Regions from separate parts of the Homo sapiens genome. Here regions 1, 2, 3, 4, 6 and 7 are each linked to region 5. The links are contacts of gene promoters, found by promoter capture Hi-C in human tissues and cell types (Jung and others, 2019). All regions are on one chromosome and are shown on one strand. The core of a region is centred on a gene start or on the middle of the fragment in contact, and the rest is flanking DNA. Distances in the headings are between cores, read along the strand shown.

The links. Contacts are between HindIII fragments. The study calls those that stand out against the background at their distance.
Region 1: the fragment with the promoter of UTS2R here is called in contact with the fragment with the promoter of RAB40B in region 5 in 2 of the 25 tissues and cell types used here (bladder and dorsolateral prefrontal cortex).
Region 2: a fragment that was not itself captured here is called in contact with the fragment with the promoter of RAB40B in region 5 in 1 of the 25 tissues and cell types used here (lymphoblastoid cells).
Region 3: a fragment that was not itself captured here is called in contact with the fragment with the promoter of RAB40B in region 5 in 2 of the 25 tissues and cell types used here (lymphoblastoid cells and spleen).
Region 4: a fragment that was not itself captured here is called in contact with the fragment with the promoter of RAB40B in region 5 in 3 of the 25 tissues and cell types used here (dorsolateral prefrontal cortex, lymphoblastoid cells and spleen).
Region 6: a fragment that was not itself captured here is called in contact with the fragment with the promoter of RAB40B in region 5 in 1 of the 25 tissues and cell types used here (lymphoblastoid cells).
Region 7: a contact is called between a fragment that was not itself captured here and the fragment with the promoter of RAB40B in region 5, in 1 of the 25 tissues and cell types used here (dorsolateral prefrontal cortex).

The regions. Positions count from the first base shown.
Region 1 is chr17:82,370,454-82,373,153 of GRCh38, forward strand. It overlaps UTS2R (urotensin 2 receptor), which reads left to right and starts at 1,312. Exons shown (of 3, transcript NM_018949.3): 1 at 1,312-1,594; 2 at 2,145-2,330. The HindIII fragment of the contact is 34,629 bases long and covers 1-2,700 here.
Region 2 is chr17:83,043,920-83,046,619 of GRCh38, forward strand. The region is part of intron 3 of QTGAL (queuosine-tRNA galactosyltransferase); the gene reads right to left. Among named protein-coding and RNA genes, the nearest start is that of QTGAL, 6.5 kb to the right of the region's middle. The HindIII fragment of the contact is 5,650 bases long and covers 1-2,700 here.
Region 3 is chr17:83,000,825-83,003,524 of GRCh38, forward strand. All of the region lies in intron 6 of QTGAL (queuosine-tRNA galactosyltransferase), which reads right to left. Among named protein-coding and RNA genes, the nearest start is that of QTGAL, 50 kb to the right of the region's middle. The HindIII fragment of the contact is 7,803 bases long and covers 1-2,700 here.
Region 4 is chr17:83,181,645-83,184,394 of GRCh38, forward strand. All of the region lies in intron 2 of LOC101929650 (a long non-coding RNA gene), which reads left to right. Among named protein-coding and RNA genes, the nearest start is that of METRNL, 100 kb to the left of the region's middle. The HindIII fragment of the contact is 3,242 bases long and covers 1-2,750 here.
Region 5 is chr17:82,697,430-82,700,178 of GRCh38, forward strand. It overlaps RAB40B (RAB40B, member RAS oncogene family), which reads right to left and starts at 1,269. Exons shown (of 6, transcript NM_006822.3): 1 at 1,026-1,269. The coding sequence starts at 1,167. RefSeq lists silencers at 998-1,427, 1,448-1,837. The HindIII fragment of the contact is 28,650 bases long and covers 1-2,749 here.
Region 6 is chr17:83,065,354-83,068,059 of GRCh38, forward strand. No RefSeq gene overlaps it. Among named protein-coding and RNA genes, the nearest start is that of METRNL, 13 kb to the right of the region's middle. The HindIII fragment of the contact is 5,163 bases long and covers 1-2,706 here.
Region 7 is chr17:82,428,842-82,431,541 of GRCh38, forward strand. The region is part of intron 4 of HEXD (hexosaminidase D); the gene reads left to right. LOC124904091 (a long non-coding RNA gene) reads right to left here and starts at 1,571. Exons shown (of 3, transcript XR_007065958.1): 1 at 593-1,571. The HindIII fragment of the contact is 5,064 bases long and covers 1-2,700 here.

The sequences.
Region 1 (2,700 bases), core at 62-2,561, 330 kb before region 5:
GCAGCTGGCTTGCGGGAAATTTAATTCTTGGAGCAGGCATTCTGGGTCCTGAGTGCTTTTCCCCAGCCCTAGCCCCTAGACTCCAGCTTAGTAATCAGCTCTCACAGAACCATCACGTCGGAGGCAGCCTTCCACCCCCTTTCCTCCCGCGCACAGGCAGGATGAGCTGCTCCCCTTTCGGGTCGGAAGCTGCAGCTGTATTTGGTTTCAGTTCGGCTGTTTTCAGCTCACAGAGAATGAACTGTCTTATTGTGTGACCCTTGCTCCGTCCAGCGGACGCTCGGAGACCAGAGGGACTTTTCCCGCCCTCTCCAGCCCAGCCTCGCCTCCCCAGCACGTGGCAAACGTCCCACGGAGGGGACTGGTGGGCATCTGGGGCTCCCCCGGATCCAGCTGATTGCAGGAGCCTCTCGGCCATTCACACTTGGCCACCTCCTCTCCCCCAGCAGAACCCCTTCAGCTTTAGGGGCCGGTCCGCGGCCTCAGGCAGCAGATGAGCCCCGGGCGGAGTGGAGTGGGCGAGGCCAGCTCCTCGCTGGGGGCCCTTTAGACCCCGTGTTCACAGCTCTCCAGCTCTCCTCTAGTCTAATTTATTAATGTTCTGTGTCTTTTTCTTTCAGGGGTTCAGCATGAGTGAAGGCCCACATCCTACCTCCGAGCAGCAAGTGAAACCGAGTGGGGGCCAGCACCCAGCTCAGGGGCTCGAGGGTGAGGCTGTGGGGTCCTTCCTCCTACCCCGCGGGGCCCTGCAGCTCCCAGCGTCACTTCCGTGGATGTGGCCACCACGAGTCCCTGCCGAGGCCTGGAGAGGCTGCGTGGGCTTCTAAGAGCATCTGTGGGAGACCCGCAACAGGGGCGGGGTCAAGGCCCCCAAAGAGCCCGTCCCCGCCTGGGCGGGTGACTCCCTCCCTCCCTTACCTCCTTTCTATGACCCTCTCGGGGTTTAGGGGTGTTCCTGCCCCCCACCTGCGCGCGGGCGGGTCCAGGGCTTGGTGGACACGGAGAATCCCAGGCTCCGTGCCCTGCAAACACGGGCGTGAGGGGCGCAGGGGTGAACGCTGGAGGCGGAGAACCCAAGAGGGGCTGCGGGGTCAGCCTTGGGGCAGCCGGGCTGGAGGCAGCTTCGCTCCGCAGACGCAGACGCGAGACCCGCCTGGGACCCTCCGCCGACCCCGCTGCGGCCCCGCGACCCCCGCGTCTTCCCGGCGCCGCGCGGTCAGCGCCGCCCCCTAGACACCCGGCGCCGTCCCCTCCGCGCGCCTGCTGCCCGCTGGGGTTATTTTAATACCGGGCCCTGGCGCGGGGCGCGGCGCATTCCCAGCTGGCGGCGGGCAGGTGGCGGCGGCGCAGAGACCCGGCGCGGGGCGGGGGGCGCGGCTTTGGTGGCGGGACTGGCGGGCGCCCCTGCCGTGTGCTCTGGAAGCCGAGGCCACCGCGGAGCCCCTCGCGCCCCCTCTGCGCTGGGACAGGGGAGCGCGCCTCGGAAAGTTCCCCGCGGCCCCGCTGCGCGAGGAGTTTGGAGCCGCGAGCGGCTGCCCCCACGCGCGACCCCAGGCTCGGCGGGCAGGTCTGGCCGCTCAGTGACCGGAGGCAGGTGGGTCCTCGGTGGGTGACCGGGAGCGCGCGGGGACTGCCGGGTCTGTGCCCTTCGGGGCCCTCCGCAGGGCTGGGCCGGGGTTTCGCGGTGGGAACCCACCCTGGGCGAGGGGAGCGGGGTCCAGCGAGGCGGCTTCTCCCGTGCCGTGGAACTTTCGGCCCCTCCCCTTCCCCCCTAGCGACCCTGGAGCAATCCTAGCGGCCCGGCGGCCGCTGTCCCCCTGCCCGTGACTCGGGCTCGCGCACAACTGGGGAGCCCGGTGCACCCTCGGCTTCTGCGCCGTCCCCTGGGTGAGGGCTCTGGAAATGCCCTGGGTGGGGGCAGCAAGGGGGTGAGGGTCCCCTGGACAGATGGAGCTGGGAGCTGCTCGGCCTGGTGGGAAAGGGCGGACAGGGCACATTTCCAGGCCCTGGAAGGCCCCCAGCGCCCCCACCTGTTGACAACTCCCCACCCCAGCCAAGACTGCTCCCTGCGCAGCCATGAGTGTTCGGCCTAAATTCAGCGTGGCTCGTGGAATCAGGCAGCCTCCTGTGTCTTGTTTCTTCAGCCCACCACCGCGCTGTTTCATCCAGGCTGCTGACCCCAGCGGCGACTCCTTCACTGGCTTCATGTCACAGTTTGCCTGCCCCGTCCACTGGGGACATTTGAGCTGTTTCCAGCTTCTTAGGAGTCAAGCTGCCGTGAACTTTCGCACGCTTGTCATTTTCTGAACGTTGGCAGCCCTTTATCTAAGGTACTAACCTGAGAGTAGAATTGCCGGGTGAGAAGGTATAGGCGGTCAACTCTGCAAATCGTGCCAATGGCTTTCCAAAGCGGCGGCACAGTCCAGGTTCCCAGCAACAGGAAACGGCAGGGCCAGCTCCTCCACAGCCCCCACGCCTGTTGACAAGGATATCTGCCTTTTCACGCGTTCATCCTTGTCAGCACGCAGGGGCTCCTGTGGCCCTGACTGGCATTTCCCTGCTTGTTGGCTGCGTGGGTGTCCTTTTCAGGAAGTCCCCGGTCACGGTTTTGGTCTCTTTTTTTCAAATGGGTTGTTTGTCTTTTCCTTACTAATTTGCAGTTCTTCCCTATATTTTTCTTACCAGCTTTTTGTCTATGTT
Region 2 (2,700 bases), core at 1-2,500, 350 kb after region 5:
ACTACCAAAATTGACTCAAGAAGAAATAAAAAAAATCTCAACACACCTATAACAAATAAAGAGATTGACTCAGTAATAAAAAAAACAAAAACTCCCAACAAAAAAGCCCAGAGTCAGGTGACCTCACTGATGAATTCCACCAAACTCAGAGAATTACTAACACCAATCCTTCCCAAACTCTTCCAAAAAACAAGAGGAAGAAACACTTATTCTATGAGGCCAGTATTACTCTGATACCGAAGCCACACAAAGATATCATATGAATAGGAACCTACAGGCCAATAGCCCTTACAAATATATATATGCAAAAATCTTCAACAACATACTAGCAAACTGAATCCAGCAGTATACTAGAAAGATTTTACACCAGGAACAAGTGGGATTTATCCCAATAATGTGAGGGCAGTTCAACATAGGATATCAATCAACGTAACATACCATCTTAACAGATAAAGGGGAAAAAACTATATGATCATCTCAAATTGGTGTCAAAAAGGCATTTGACAAAATCCGGCACCCTTTCATGATTTAAAAATTCAACAGACTAGAATTAAAAGGAAACCTCCTTAGCGTAAGAAATGGCATTTATAAAAACCTACAGCTAACGTCATATTCAAAGGTGAAAGACTGAAAGCTTTTCCCCTACAATTGCTTGGGAGAACCGAAGCGAGGATGCCCACTTTCACCACTTCTATTCGGCACCGTCCTGGAAGCACCAACCAGAGCGATGAAGAAAGATAAAAGCCAGGCGCGGCGGCTCACGCCTGTCATCCCAGCATTTTGGGAGGCCAAGGCAGGCGGATCACCTGAGGTCAGGAGTTTGAGACCAGCCTGGCCAACATGGCGAAACCCCGTCTCTACTAGAAATACAAAAAAATTAGCTGGTTGTGGTGGCGCACGCCTGTAGACCCAGCTGCTCGGGAGGCTGAGACATGAGAATTGCTTGAACCCAGGTGGCGGAGCTTGCAGTGAGCTGAGATCGTGCCACTGCACTCCAGCCTGGATGACACAGTGAGACTCTGTCTCAAAAAAAAAAAAAGAAAGAATCTAAATTGTAAAAGGAGAAGCAAAACTATCTCTACTCATAGATAATATGATCTTAAATACAGGAAATCCTAAAAACCCACAAAGAACAAACTATTAAAGCTAATAAACTATTAGAGCTAATAATTGTAGGATACAAGGTCAACACTAAGAGAAATCTGTTGTTTATCCCCTAGAAATGAGCACTCTCAAAGAAAATTAAGAAAACAATTCACAAAACTTATCACAAAGCTCAAGTAATCAAAACAATGAGGTACTGGCGTAAGGACAGACATATAGACCAACGGAATAGAATCTGGAGTCCAGGAATGAATCCATACGTTTATGGTTAATGGATTTTTGACAAGAATACCAAGACAATTCAGTGGAGAAAGAATAGTCTTTTAAATGGTGTTGGAAAAACTGAGTATCTACTTACAAAAGAATGAAGCTGGACCTTTGCTTCACACCATACATAAAAATTAAGTCAAAATAGATCAAAGGCCTAAATATAAGAGCTACAAGTATAATTCTGAAGAAAACATACAGATAAAATCTTCGTGACCTTGATTTAGCCGTGGCTTCTTAGAAATGACACCAAAAGCACACGCCACAAAAGAAATAATAGATAAATTAGATTTTTGTCTTCATCAAAATCATAAGCCTTTTGTGCATCAAGGGACACTCTCGAGAGGGTGAAAAGATAACCCAAAGAACGGGAAAAAAATTGCAAATTATATATAATAAAGCTCTAGTGTCCAGAACATATAAGGAGCTCTTACAATTCAACAATGAAAACACATACAGCTCAATTTTTAAAATGGCCAAAATACTTGAATAAACATTTCTTCAAGGAAGATATACATTTATTTATTTATTTATTATTTTTTGAGACGGAGTTTTGCTCTTGTTGCCAGGCTGGAGTCCAATGGTACGATCTCGGCTCACAGCAGAGATCGCGATCTCTGCCTCCCGGGTTCAAGCAATTCTTCTGTCTCAGCCTCCTGAGTAGCTGGGATTAAAGGCCGCTGCCACTACTCCAAGCTAATTTTTGTATTTTTAGTAGAGACGGGGTTTCACCATGTTGGGCAGCTTGGTCTTGAACTCCTGACCTCTGGTGATCCACCCGCCTTGGCCTCCCAAAGTGCTGGGATAACAGGCATGACCCACCAAACCCGGCCCATTTATTTTTTATTATTTATTTTGAGATGGAGTCTCACTCTGTCACCCAGGCTGAAGTACAGTGGCACCATCTCGGCTCACTGCAACCTCTGCCTCCCGGGTTCAAGCGATTCTCCTGCCTCAGCCTCCCAAGTGGCTGAGATTACAGGTGCATGCCACCACACCTGGCTAATTTTTTTTTGTGGTATTTTTAGTAGAGATGGGGTTTCACCATGTTGGCCAGGCTGGTCTCAAACTCCTGACCTCAGGTGGTCCACCCGTCTCGGCCTCCCGAAGTGCCGGGATTAGAGGCGTGAGTCACCATGCCTGGCCCAAGGAAGATATATAAATGGCCAACAAGCACACGAAAAGAGGCACAACATCTTTAGTCAACAAGGACATTCAAATGGAAACCACAGTGAGACACCACTTCACACCCACTAGCATGGCTATAATTTAAAAAACAGAAAATAACAAGTGTTGATGAGGATATGTAGAAATTGGAACGTTCATACA
Region 3 (2,700 bases), core at 177-2,676, 300 kb after region 5:
CCACAGTAATTATGCTGAGTGAAGGTGGCCAGACCAGTGAAGCACACAGCACATGACTGCATTTACCTGAGCCTCCAGCAAATGTAAAACTGCTGTGCAGGCAGAAAGTGGGTCATGGTTGCATGGTGTGGGGAGGGCTCCGGGATGGACAGGAGGAAACTTGGGGTGTTGGATATATGTGTTCACTGTGTTGACTGTGGTGGGTCACTGGGGTACAGACACATGTCAAAACCGATCAAACTGTACATTTGAAATAGGGGCCATTTGCTGTATGTCAGTTATACATCAACAAAGCTATACATCAACAAAGGTATACATCAACAAGACAAATGGACAAATCACTGTAAATCCCATAAAGCCTCTAGCTCTAAGTACTACTTTGCAGGAACTCCAGGGACAGAGGAATCTGTTAAATGAGACCAGGGAGATGCAATCAGCAGAAGTCGGACTACTGAAAGCACCGATGGCAAATCATTCAACATCGTCCACAACATAGTCAAGGAAAAGGAAGACGGAGGAATCTGGATATTTAAAGGGATTTATCAACAACTGCAATGTATGCACCTTCTTTAGATCTCAATTCAAACCAGAAACTGTGAAGAAAAAAGGAAGAAGATGAGAAAGTGGACAAGGAGGAGAAAAACAGAACTTTATGAAACAGAAAGTCCCAGGAAGGAACACTTCGGCATCCTTCAAGTCAACACAGGGTGTAGGACTCCATTTACGTAAAATTCCAGCAAACGTAAACCAGTCTATGGTCACAGAAAGCAGAGGGGCGGGCGGGGTGGGGGACGGGAGCCCCTCTAGGTGCTGGGTGTGTGACCTGCACACAGAGACATCTGAGAGGAACAAGTGGTGGGTTTGCAGTAACATCGTTTTTTCTCTGTAATTTTTTATATTGCTTGACTTTATGAAACAGTGAAGCATAACTTTTGACAAATGCAATAAAGTTTTTCTTTTTCTTTTTTTGAGACAGGGTCTGTTGCCCAGGCTGGAGGGCAGTGGTACAATCATGGCTCATGGTGGCCTTGACCTCCTGGGCTCAGGTGATCCTCCCACCTCAGCCTCCCGAGAAACTGGGACTAAAGGTGTGAACCACCACACCCAGATAATGTTTCGTAGAGACAGGGTCTCACTATATTGCGCAGACTGGTCTTAAATCCCCAGGCTCAAGTGATCCTCCTGCTTCAGCCTCTCAAAGTGCTGGGATTATAGGCGTGAGCCACTGCGCCTTTTTTTTTTTTTTAAATTTCCCACACTATACTGGCATGAAGGTCTATTTTAAAATTGTTTTAAGTGAATACAGTATGTAACTGATAAAAGAACATTGATTCATTTTAATTAAAAAACATGAAAATAAAAAACTCTTCTATGGGCATCAAAGCTAACACTCAGGAGAAAGCCTGCCCCCACGGGGCAGCTCAGCCATGGCCTCCGGGGAACCCGCTCTCGGTGACAGCGCTCTGACCGCGGTCTGGAGCTGGGCTGAAACTCAACATGTGTCCAGACTGCTGCAGTTCAGAACCAGCTTGGCAACGCCGAACCGCATTCCGGTTTGCACGAGGTGCACGTTACTTAGAAAAGTAGCCACAGTCTGCCTGAGTTCCCGTTTTAAGTATTTTCACAACTTCACTGAAAAGCACAGCAACTCACTCACAGTGTGCAGCCTAGTCACCAGGACACGCGCCCTCGGCCGCTAGCTCGTACAGGGAAGGGCTGTCATGACATGACCACAAGATGGTCTCTGCCTCCCCCAGGGGCAGCCAAGGGCCCCACAGAGGATGGCAGGGACAAGCCACCCATGTGGCAACGGCCACGTCCCCTCCCTCAGACGGCAGCCAGTCATACCCGAGGCGGCACCGCGGGCGGCCCCGTGTCCAGTCTCACAGAAGCACAGTCCACTGCCGAGGACACCCTGTTGTCCACATCGCATGCAGCAGCCTGGCTCTTGGAACGTGCTGGGGGCACACGGGACACGGAGACGCTGAAACACTAGCTGTGGGATTCCTGAGCCCGCCCTCCCACTCTCTGCAGTCCGCGTGTGGGATTCCTGAGCCCGCCCTCCGCGTGTGGGATTCCTGAGCCCGCCCTCCCGCCCTCCGCGTGTGGGATTCCTGAGCCCGCCCTCCCACTCTCCGCAGTCCGCGTGTGGGATTCCTGAGCCCGCCCTCCCGCCCTCCGCGTGTGGGATTCCTGAGCCCGCCCTCCCGCCCTCCGCGTGTGGGATTCCTGAGCCCGCCCTCCCACTCTCCGCAGTCCGCGTGTGGGATTCCTGAGCCCGCCCTCCCGCCCTCCGCGTGTGGGATTCCTGAGCTCGCCCTCCCACTCTCTGCAGTCCGCGTGTGGGATTCCTGAGCCCGCCCTCCGCGTGTGGGATTCCTGAGCCCGCCCTCCCACTCTCTGCAGTCCGCGTGTGGGATTCCTGAGCCCGCCCTCCCGCCCTCCGCGTGTGGGATTCCTGAGCCCGCCCTCCCGCCCTCCGCAGTCCGCGTGTGGGATTCCTGAGCCCGCCCTCCCGCCCTCCGCGTGTGGGATTCCTGAGCTCGCCCTCCCACTCTCTGCAGTCCGCGTGTGGGATTCCTGAGCCCGCCCTCCCACTCTCCGCAGTCCGCGTGTGGGATTCCTGAGCCCGCCCTCCCGCCCTCCGCGTGTGGGATTCCTGAGCTCGCCCTCCCACTCTCTGCAGTCCGCGTGTGGGAT
Region 4 (2,750 bases), core at 121-2,620, 480 kb after region 5:
TCCACGCCTGGGGGGTGCAGGGGGGATGGGCCTGGCTTTCCACGCCTGGGGGGTGCAGGGGGGATGGGCCTGGCTTTCCACGCCTGGGGGGTGCAGGGGGGATGGGCCTGGCTTTCCACGCCTGGGGGGTGCAGGGGGGATGGGCCTGGCTTTCCACGCCTGGGGGGTGCAGGGGGGATGGGCCTGGCTTTCCACGCCTGGGGGGTGCAGGGGGGATGGGCCTGGCTTTCCACGCCTGGGGGGTGCAGGGGGGATGGGCCTGGCTTTCCACGCCTGGGGGGTGCAGGGGGGATGGGCCTGGCTTTCCACGCCTGGGGGGGTGCAGGGGGGATGGGCCTGGCTTTCCACACCCGGGGGGTACAGCGGGGATGGGCCTGTATTCCACACCTGGGGGTGTATGTCCACCACCCAGATGCCACCTCTGTGTCATTCCTGGAGGGCATTCGGGCATCACCTGAGGGTGGGGAGCAGTGCCCTGACCCACATGACCCCCAGCAGAAGCTGCCACTGTCGGCCCTGGGCTCCGGGTGTCAGCGTGGCGCTCTGGGCTTTTCCCACACTGGGGGGCCATTTCAGGATGTGGATCCCTCCAGGAAGGGCTTGCTGAGTGGCTGCTGTTTGCTGGGATGGGTGAGGGGTAGACAACAGGCACTCAGGAGCCATGGTTGGGACAGAACTTATGTTTGTCAGCCACCTTGGAGGGGCGACCTGGAGAGCTCGGACAACCTTGCAGCACCCACCAGAGAGCTTAGCACCAGGACCCAGCGGAGCTCTCCCACGTGCACACAGACTCACTGCTCGTGTGTGAGAAGGGGAATAAGTGTGACTGAGCCTTCTGGAAGTTAGGGCCTAGCACAGAGGGTCCCAGATGGCCCGGAGAACCAGGTCCTGTGCAGCTATCCAGAGAAGGTCCAGTCACCAGAGACAGACAGCTGGAGTGCCAGGGCCCTGGAGGTATCAATTGCCTTTGTTTTACATGAAGACATTGAACTTCCACAGGAGGGCAAACGCCCTGGCTAAAGTAACTGGCGGGGCAGCGTCAGGAACTCACAAGCCCCTGTGGTCCGTGCAGGCTGCCGTCGATTTGATGAGCACAGCAGGTCCAGGCAGAGAGACGCTCACCTCCAGCTGCGGTTGGGGTATGTCTGGGAGGCCTGTGGGGTGGCTTTGCTCCTCCACCTTGGGCCAGGGTAGCCTGTGGCAAAGACAGTCTCACAGTGTGTAGTCTCCTTGAGGTCTGGGCCTGTCCGCAGACAGGAAATAATGAGACCGGCTCAGGACAGGGCCGGGCTGGCCTCTGTGTTTTGTGAAAGTTCGAGTTTCTACACCCTCTGAGAAGATGCTGGGCCCTGAGGGAGGGTGTGGACCAGAAGGAAGTCACGGGGTGAGTGGAGGGGGAGGGAAGCTTATGTGCCATTTTAAGAAGACGACAGCAAAAACAGGAAAATCCTATTTATCTGAATCCTATGTGATTCCACTTGAATTTTCAATAATTTAGACAAAAGTAAATTGGCGTTTACTTTTGCATTAGCCATAAGGAGCAGAAGGAGAAATTTGCTCCCTAGAATATGAGTGTTGACGTGTTGCTGACATCAAAACAGAATTTAAACTTTGAGGAAAGAGAGATGCCAGTGCTGCCACAAAGGCACCGACGCCCGAGACAGCAGGGCTCGTGTTTCTTCACGCAGACCATCTGTGCCGCCGTTGGCCATCGGAGGTGATGAAACTGGGCTGCTTCCAATGCATTCCAGAATGTAAACCCCTCACCGTGTTTCTTCTTGGTTTGATCCCTGGAGTGCCTGTGCTTTGTCTTCAAGTCACACTTGGGATTTTGCTAGTTTTCCAAGATTATCGCATTTTTTTTGAACAAAGTAAATCAGTTTCCGACAATGCCACTGTCGTGTTAGGGTTTCTCGGCGTGTCGCCTGGCTCTGGCCGGGGTTGTGTGTGACGCTTCCTACCCGTGCTGCCTTGCACATTTATGGAGCAGGGGGTTTGCCGGCAGCGGTCTTGGTTCCTTATAATCCTGTCATCGTCCTCGTCGTCAGCCCCCTCCTTCCCCTGCTCTTCCTCTGTTGTCCCAGCAAGACTTTCAAAGAACCAGCTATTGCTCAAGTGGTCTTTTAGAGAATGTGCACACCTCTCAACCACTCCACAACACCTCAAGATTGCAGTGGTTGTGTTTCGGGTTCACATACATGTATATCGAGACTCAGGGAAGTCCAGGGCCACACAGGAAGTGGCAGAGCCAAGATTTAGACCTGATCTAGCTCCAAATCCCAGCTTCTCTGTTGCTGGCCACGCAGGATGAGCTCTGTTTCCCAGGCAGGCTGAGCAAATGTCCAGGATGGCAGGTTCTTGGCAGGGCCCTGGGGGCTGAGGCCACAGAAGGCCTCCTCACAGGAGTGGGGGTGAAGGGCCCCAGGTCCAGGCTGGATGACCTTCTGCCCTTCCTGATGCGGGTGACCTGGCTCTGCTGGTTTGAAGTAAAAACGCTGTTGGCAGAGAATCGAGACGCGGGGAAGGTTAGTTCAGGGCAGGGATGTTGGTGTCTGCGGGTGATGACTGCAGCCTCCCTGTGTGTTGTGTTTCCCGGTTGGCACACCTCTGTTTATTGTCTGCGCCAGCCTCATACCCCCTTTCCCTCAGCGTATTTCCTTCATAACAGGATGGCAGACTCAGCGGCTGCTATGGGGCTGTTCCAACTACTGAAAACACTGAGATAAGGCCCACGGTGGCAGAAATCCCTG
Region 5 (2,749 bases), core at 19-2,518:
CAGGTCCTTCCCACCAAGACTCCATCTCCACGCCCGGCTGCCCTCCTCCGCCCAGGACTCAGAGCGGGTCTCTGTTGGAAGCGTGGGTTCAGCCCCGAGGCGCGGCAGGAAGGTGGGCACAGGCTGGGCTCCTTCCACAGCCTCAGGGTCGGCCTCGTCCAAGCTGTTCCAGGGATGCGCGTGGGTGAAGGCCCCGCCTGCTCCTCACTCCCAGCCGAGGTGTTCGCCTCTGCGCGTTCCCCCTTCTCCTGGGTTCCTGCCCCCGCCTTTCTTTCCCCGGAGCCGTCCACCCCCTCGCCGGGCGCCGGCTTTCAAGCCTCAAACTTGGGGGATCCCCGGGCTGCCTGCCTGGGAGCTCTGGGCGCTCCGGCCTCCCCTCGCCCTGGAACCCGCTCTCCGGCCGCTGTCGTGGGGGGTCCCCTCTTCCGCACGCGAGTCACCTGTGCTCCTTCCTCTCCCCCGGACACGCGGGACCCCTGGCCTCGGGACCGGACCCTGGTCTCCCCTCCCCTCCGACCCACGCGCAGACCCAGCACCTGGGCGCCTGCTCGCCGCGCTCCGCCCCAGGAGCCCCGGAGCTCGCGTCCCCTCCCGCCCCTCCTGCCCCGCGGCCGAACGCGCACTTGCGGACTCGAGCCCCCGCCCCGGGTCCCCACAGCAGCGGCCCCAGGTCGGGAGGAGCCCAGCGCCCGGCCCAGCCGCGGGCTCCCGCTGCGCGCAGACTGCGGAGAAGGATGGAGACTGCGCCGCGGGGCCTCGAGTGGAACTGGGGGTGCAACAGGGACGCCGCAGCACGAGGGCCAGGGCCGGGCGGAGAAAGGCCCGCCCGCGAACCGCGCTCCTCCTCAGCCCCGCGCCCCCGGACCGGGACTCCTACCCTCCCCGGCCACGCGCCCCGGCCTCTTCCCGACCCCTGCCCGGTCTCGCGTCCCCGGACCCGGACCCCCACCCGCACCCCCTCCCCAGCCCCGCGCCCCTCCCCGGCCCCGCGCCCGCACCCCGGCACGCCCTCCGCCCGCGCTCACCCGCCGGGTGGCCGTACGGGGACTCGGCCGCGCCATCCTGCAGGCTCGCCAGGATCTCGCCCTTGCCCACGTCGCTGTCGCCCACCAGCAGGAACTTGAGCAGAAAGTCGTAGGCCCGGACCGGGCTGCCCAGGGCGCTCATCGTGACGGCCCGGCGCCCCCACCCATGCCCGGCCTGCGGGGCTGAGCGCAGAGGCGGCGGCCCGGCCCCGAGAGGCGCCGCGCGGGCCCCGAGTCCTTGCTCGCCTCCGGCCCCGCCCCGCCGCCCAGCGCTGACAGCGCGCATCCCCGCCCGGCCCCGCCATTGGTGGACCGCAGTTGCTAGGGCAGCTGCGCGCTTTCACTGGCTTGGTTGTCCGTCCATCTTACTCTCGTCACCGCCTCCGGGCTGTCGCCCACCCGCCCCTCCTGAAAGGTCGCTGTCACCACAGCCAATGGAGGCCCGGAGACGGGGCAGGGGCGGAGCCAGAACAAGCAGGAGGCGGGGACTCTGCTCCCGCAGCCAATGGCGGGGCGGGGTGGGGGCGATCAGGGGGTGGGGCCGGGTGTTTACACTCTCGCGTGCGCCCGTGAGCGCCACGAACTCGCTCCCACGGTCGTCGGGTCTGCACGCCCCGAGTCGGGAGGGGCGAGGGGCGGTGCAGGGTCCCAGCGTGGGGCCTCCCCACCTGCCCACCAGGGAGACCTCGGGTGCCTGGCCGGGTGGGGCTCGGGGTCGGTCCAGTTGGCGGACGCGGCCGGAAGGCCCCCGCAGGCCGCCTCGCCGGAGGAGTCCCTGTCGCCGTAGAATCCAGGCTCGCGGTCTCTCCCCACGGTTCATCCAGGGCCTCGTCGTTGCCCCATTTACGCGGCGTGCCTGAATGCCTGTGTGTGCACATGCGCCTGTGTACGTGTGCATGTGTTCGTGTGTGTGCATGTCTGCGTGTGCATGTGTGCCTCTGCAGATATCTGCACATGTATGTGTCTGCGTGTGCATGTGTCCCTCTGCAGGTGTCTGCACATCTATGTGTCTGCGTGTGCATGTGTCCCTCTGCAGGTGTCTGCACATGTATGTGCGTGTGCATGTGTCCCTCTGCAGATGTCTGCACATCTGTGTGTCTGCGTGTGCATGTGTGCCTCTGCAGGTGTCTGCACATGTATGTGCGTGTGCATGTGTGCCTTTGCAGGCATCTTTGCATGTGTGTGTCTGCGTGTGCTGCTTCTATGCATGCGCTCCTATGTGTGCGTGCGCTTGTTTGTGCATCCATGCATGTGTTTGCGTGCGTGCTGGAGGAGAGCATTGGGTGGGACCCTCCAGCCTTTTGGCTTCTCCTCTGCTCTAGAGAGCAAGGGTTGCCAGGCCGAGGTCTGCCCTTCGCTCTGAGGGTCTCACCAGGTGCACATTGGTTTATTTGGTGCAGAATTCAGGCAGCAGGCAAAGGGCGAGCTCCGTCCAAGAAGAAGGATAATGCCCCCACTACTTCATCCCCTCCACCCTGCGTTGTGTAGGGAACTGCTCTAGACCCCATTAGAAGTTTTTTGTGGGGGAGGAACAGAAGAGGGAGCGGAAGAAGAATTACAAAAGAGACTGAAGTCAAGATTATTATATTTGTCATTTGCATTCATTTGGACCTAGAAAATGTTTACTTTGGAATGCCAATTTAGTTTGCAACACCTGTTATTCATTGGTTGATTAGTTGCTTTAGTTACTAATGCAGCCACATTTTTTTTTTTTTGAGACAGAG
Region 6 (2,706 bases), core at 182-2,681, 370 kb after region 5:
AGCTCCATCCCAGCCCCACAGACAGGGGAAGAAAAGGTTGGGGGCTGGGCAGACAAGACCATCCAGGGCCCCGGCTGGTCACCCAGGCTGAAACGGAACACATCTGTTTCTCTACACTCTAAACACTTTGCACCAAATGTGCGGGATTTTCACACCAAGCAACTTTCCAGTTCTCAGTGGACACCAACGGGGTGTCCCACGATTCAGTTCGACTCTCACACTACCTGCAGGTAGCGCAGACCCCGCAGGCTGGGGCTCCGTCCCACAAGCTGCCCCTCTGCAGGCGACCGTCCCAAGTATCGGGTGCCCAGGGTTCACACGCCTCCGTCTGACTTGGCTACAAAGTTGGGGGTTGCCACGACTCCTCCCCAGGCTTGATAATTTGCTCTAAGTCTCACAGGACTCAGGGAAAAACTCATTTACGTTCACTGATTCACTATAAAAGATGTAATAAAGGATACAGATGGACAACCAGATAACAAGGTGCACAGGGCGGGGTCCAGGAAGGACCCAAGTGCAGGAGTTTCTGTCCACCCCCCACACTCCCATGCGTTCCCCAGTCCAGAAGCTCCCGGATTCTATCTGTTAAAGGGTTTAATGGAAGCCGGCAGGCATGACCAATGGATCGTTATTCAATCTCAGCCCTTCTCCCCTCCCTGGAGGCCGGTGGGACTGAAAGTTCCAAGCTTCTAATTGATGTTTGGTCTTCCCGGTGAGCGTACCCCATCCTGAAGCTGTCTAGGGGCCCCCAAGAGTCACCTCCTTGAACAAAAAAACGCTCCTAGCACCCAGGAAATACCAAGCGATTTCGGAGCTGGTGTGGGGAACCAGGGCAGAGGCCAAATGTATATTTCTTATTCTGTTACCTGGTGCCTGGAGGCCCTGGCCACTTTCGGGTTGGCCGACCTTCGGGAAGTTTCCTGGTCCCGAACGTCTCGGGTCACTGTGGGGTAACGAGGCTCTCGGACCCTCGCCATCTGTCATCGTCATCGCCGCCGCAGGCTGGCCTTCCCTGAAGAGCTCCAGATCGCAGACACCGTGCCGTGCCCGCCACGCAGATGCAGTTTCCACTCAGCCCCACAGTGCGGGCTTCCTGGGCCCGTGTCCGGCTGGAGGAGCACCCCGGGTCCGAGCCAGCCATCCCCTCAAGAGTCCTGCGCCCTGGAGGACACCCCAAATGCCACCCCTGCTGTTACCTCCTGCAGGTTTCAGGATACTCTTACGTCGTTCTCTGTGTTCATCCGCATTTTCTGTCATGAAAGTGAATTTCTTTTGTCATAAGAAACTGTGTTTCTCAGCCTCAGGCTGCCTCACCGGGCTTCACCATGGGCGCGGCTGCCCGCCCCCTGCACACTCACTGTGCGTCCTGGAGGGACAGTGCGTGTTCTCACCCGGGGCCACGGCTTCACCCTGGGCACGGCTGCCCGCCCTCTGCACCCTCACCCTGAGTCCTGGAGGGACAGTGCGTGTTCTCACCCGGGGCCACGGCTTCACCCTGGGCACGGCTGCCCGCCCCCTGCACACTCACTGTGCGTCCTGGAGGGACAGTGCGTGTTCTCACCCGGGGCCACAGCTTCACCCTGGGCACGGCTGCCCGCCCTCTGCACCCTCACCCTGAGTCCTGGAGGGACAGTGCGTGTTCTCACCCGGGGCCACGGCTTCACCCTGGGCACGGCTGCCCGCCCTCTGCACCCTCACCCTGAGTCCTGGAGGGACGGTGCATGTTCTTACCTGGGGCCACGCAGGGCCTCTCAGGGAAGGCTGTGGCAAGACAGACACTCTTCTCAAGGCAGGTCTGGGTGCCTGGGGACTACCCCCTAGGGACCCGAGAGACCCGCTGGGTAGGATCCGGCCCCCTGTCTGCCGCGCGGCCTCCGGGAGAGAGCTGGCCTCTCCGCGTCTGTTTTCTGCCTGTGAAGGAGGCGATGGTGAAGATACCAGCTGTGGGTTTCAAGGGGAGGTGACACCTGCGCTCTGGTGGCCATGGTGTGGACACGGACCCATTGTCTGTTTCCTTTGCGGGATTCCACGCTGGGCTCCTGTTGGCAAGAGGAAGGTCCTGAGGAACTGCGGGGGGAGGCTCGGCCTCGCCTGCCCAGGTGGTGTGGGTGCCTGCGCCTGGGGGAGAGCCTGGGGTTCTCTCGGGACCCGCCTCTCCTCCCAAGGCCATTTCCATGCACTGGACACTGCAGGCCCTGAGGCATCAGGTCTCGCTGGCTTTGCTGGCCGTCCGGAGCTCTGGCCTAGGTGCGGAGTCCTGGGGGTCCTGGGGAACCCACCTGAAGCCCCCCCTCGTGGCCCCTGTGGCAACACTGACCGGGCCTGACCTGTCCCCTCGTGTCACACTGACCGGGCCTGACCTGTCCCCTTGTGTCACACTCATCTTACACTGTGCTTTATCTTGTTACCCTGCAGGCATTCACCTCAACCCCTCCCGTCCCCTCTGGGATGAGCCGGGCCACAGATAAAGGCCTCTTAGCGGAGCTACGAAAAGGATCACTTTAGCCCTTCTGGGAAGGAGGGATTTAGGTTAAGTCAGCTCAGCTTAGATTCCAAAAGACTAGGACGGTCAGCCCAGGACCCAGGCATTTGGGTGACACAAGTGCTTTCCGGCCGGGAGAGCCACAGGCTGTGCAGGGAAAACTCAGTTGCTTTTGCTTTCTGAAGTTCAGGGCTTCCAGCTGGACGTTTTTGGAAGTGCGGGAA
Region 7 (2,700 bases), core at 190-2,689, 270 kb before region 5:
CTGTCTGCCTGAGGAATGGAAGGAAAGAGCCAGAAAAGGGGTCCTGGAGGCAGTTTCCTTTTTCACTTGTATTCATCAGAATATTATTATGTGAGGTAAAACACAGTATTAGGGAAAGAAAAGGTGCTTTTCAGGCCAGGTGCGGTGGCTCACACCAGTAGTAATCCCAGCACTTTGGGAGGCCGAGGCTGGTGGATCACCTGAGGTCAGGAGTTCGAGACCAGCCTGACCAACATGGCGAAACCCCGTCTCTACTAAAAATACAAAAATTAGCCAGGCATGGTGGCGGGCACCTGTAGTCCCAGCTGCTCGGGAGGCTGGGGCAGGAGAATCACTTGAACGCAGGAGGCAGAGGTTGCCATGAGCCAAGATCGCACCACTGCACTCCAGCCTGGGTGACAGAGCAAGACTCCGTCTCAAAAAATATATATATACACATATTCTTTTTCCTGTCTGCATCAAACAGGAAGTGATGCGGCATTAACCACCACACCGATTTAATGGCTCTTAGGTTCCATTTATTTCTCTAACAGATACACCATTCTGGCTTCTATTTCCACACACCGCGGGTAAGAAGGTTGTTTTCACTTACACATGTCGGTGTTCTGGGCGTGCCACCGGAGTTCCTTCCCACAGCTCGGTCCTCCAGCCTTTCTAGTTGATTCTCTCCATCGTACTCTGCTCTGGGACCCGGCCTGCGCTCTTAGCCTCCTGCCACGTATCCACAGAATGTCTCTGCCAAGGCCGCCAGGGTCCTCCAGGTCACTAAGTCCAGGGACGGTTTTAGTCCTTTCCTGCTGGGCCCCTCGGTAGCTTCTGGCATCCCCAGCCGCTCTCCTGAGCCCCACACTTTCTGGCTTCCCTCTGCCTCTGACTGCACCTCCTCGATATCCATTTGCATTTGTCTCTCTGTAGCTGGCGGTCCCCAGGGCTCCTCTCGGTCCCTGTCCCCACCTCCCACTCTCTCTCTAGATGGTGCCATTTCTGCTCCTGCTTTCTCTTTGTCCTCCTCTTCGTCTTCCTCTTCCTCTTCTGTCTGCACCTCAGCAACTCCAGACCTCCTGGGTTACAGACCCTCATCCCCAGCTGCCTGCTGGTCGCTTCCATTGAGGGCCCTCCTCCAGCCTCTGGTGTGCAAACCAGAAGCAGACCAGCCACAGTCAGCACCACCACCCGCCACGCCCTGACCCATGTTGGTCCTGCTGCTGCTCCTCCTCCTCTTCCTCTGTCATGCAGGCACCACCCCTGTCTAAACCACTATGGACTCACCATGAAACTTTCCTAATGGGTCTCCCGGGGCCACTCTGCCCCTCCGTGCCCCTCTCCCCACCACAGCAAGTCACAGCACAGCCCTGACCACTCACACTCGCCATCTCCTCAAAGGACACTGCTGTCAGGGCAGAAGTGATCGCCACAAACCAGGTGGCTTAAGACAACAGAAATGTTCTCTCAGCCCTGGAGACCAGACATCCAAAATCAGCGTGTCGAAGGGTTGGTTTCTTACTGAGGAAGACCCTCCATGTGTACATTTACTATTAGTATACCCTTTTTGTGTGTTTGTTTTTGAGACAGGGTCTCACTCTGTTTCCCAGGCTGGAGTGTAGTGGTGCAGTCTTGGCTCACTACAACCTCTGCTTCCGAGTTCAAGTGATTCTCCTGCCTCAGCCTCCTGAGCACCTGAGATTACAGGTGTACCCCACCATGCCCGGCTAACTTTTTATCTTTTTATTAGAGATGAGGTTTCAAGATGTTGGCCAAGCTAGTCTCAAACTCCTGGCCTCAGGCGATCCGCCTGCGTCGGCCTCTCAAAGTACTGGGATTACAGGCGTGAGCCACGGTGCCCAGCCCAGTATACCCTCTTGGTATACTAGAAATAACTGCTCAGGTGTTTTGCCCATTTTTTTTTTCAACTTGAGTTTTTAAAGTTCTTTATATGTTCTAGATGCAAGTCCTCTGATGGTATGTAATTTGCAGGTATTCTCCCCCAGTGTAGAGCTACATGCTTCTGGTGTCATTTCTAAAAACTCTTTGTGATCACCAGATCACAAAGATTTTTCTTGTATTTTCTTCTAAAGTTTAACTTCTGTGCATTTTTCATTTAGATCTATGATCCATTTTTAGTTTGGTATTTTTATTCTTTCTCCAGAACCCTTGAACATCCAAGTTATTTGTCTTGAGTCACAGACTCACTCTGTCACCCAGGCTGGAGCGCGTGGTACAATCACAGCTCACTGCAGCCCTGAGCTTCTGGGCTCAAGCTTCTGGGCTCAAGCACCTCAGCCTCCTGAGTAGCAGGGACCACAGGTGCGTGCCACCATACCCGGCCAGTTTTTTTTATTATTTGCAGATACCAGGTCCCACTATGTTGCCCAGACTGGTCTCGAACCCCTGGCCTCAAACAGTTCTCCCACCTCAGCCTCTCGGAGCGCTGGGATTATAGGCATGAGCCATTGCACCTGGCCCCATTTTGAGTTAATTTTTTTTGTTCATTTTCCTTTTTGTGAAGAGTGGGGTCTCACTATGTTGCTGGGCTGGTCTCAAACTTCTGGGCTCAGGTGATCTTCCCGCCTCTGCCTCCCTAAGTGCTAATTTTTTTTTTTTTTTTGAGACAGAGTTTCACTCTGTCACCCAGGCTGGAGTGCAGCGGCGTGATCTCAGCTCACTACAAACTCCACATTCCAAGTAGCTTCAGCCTCCCGA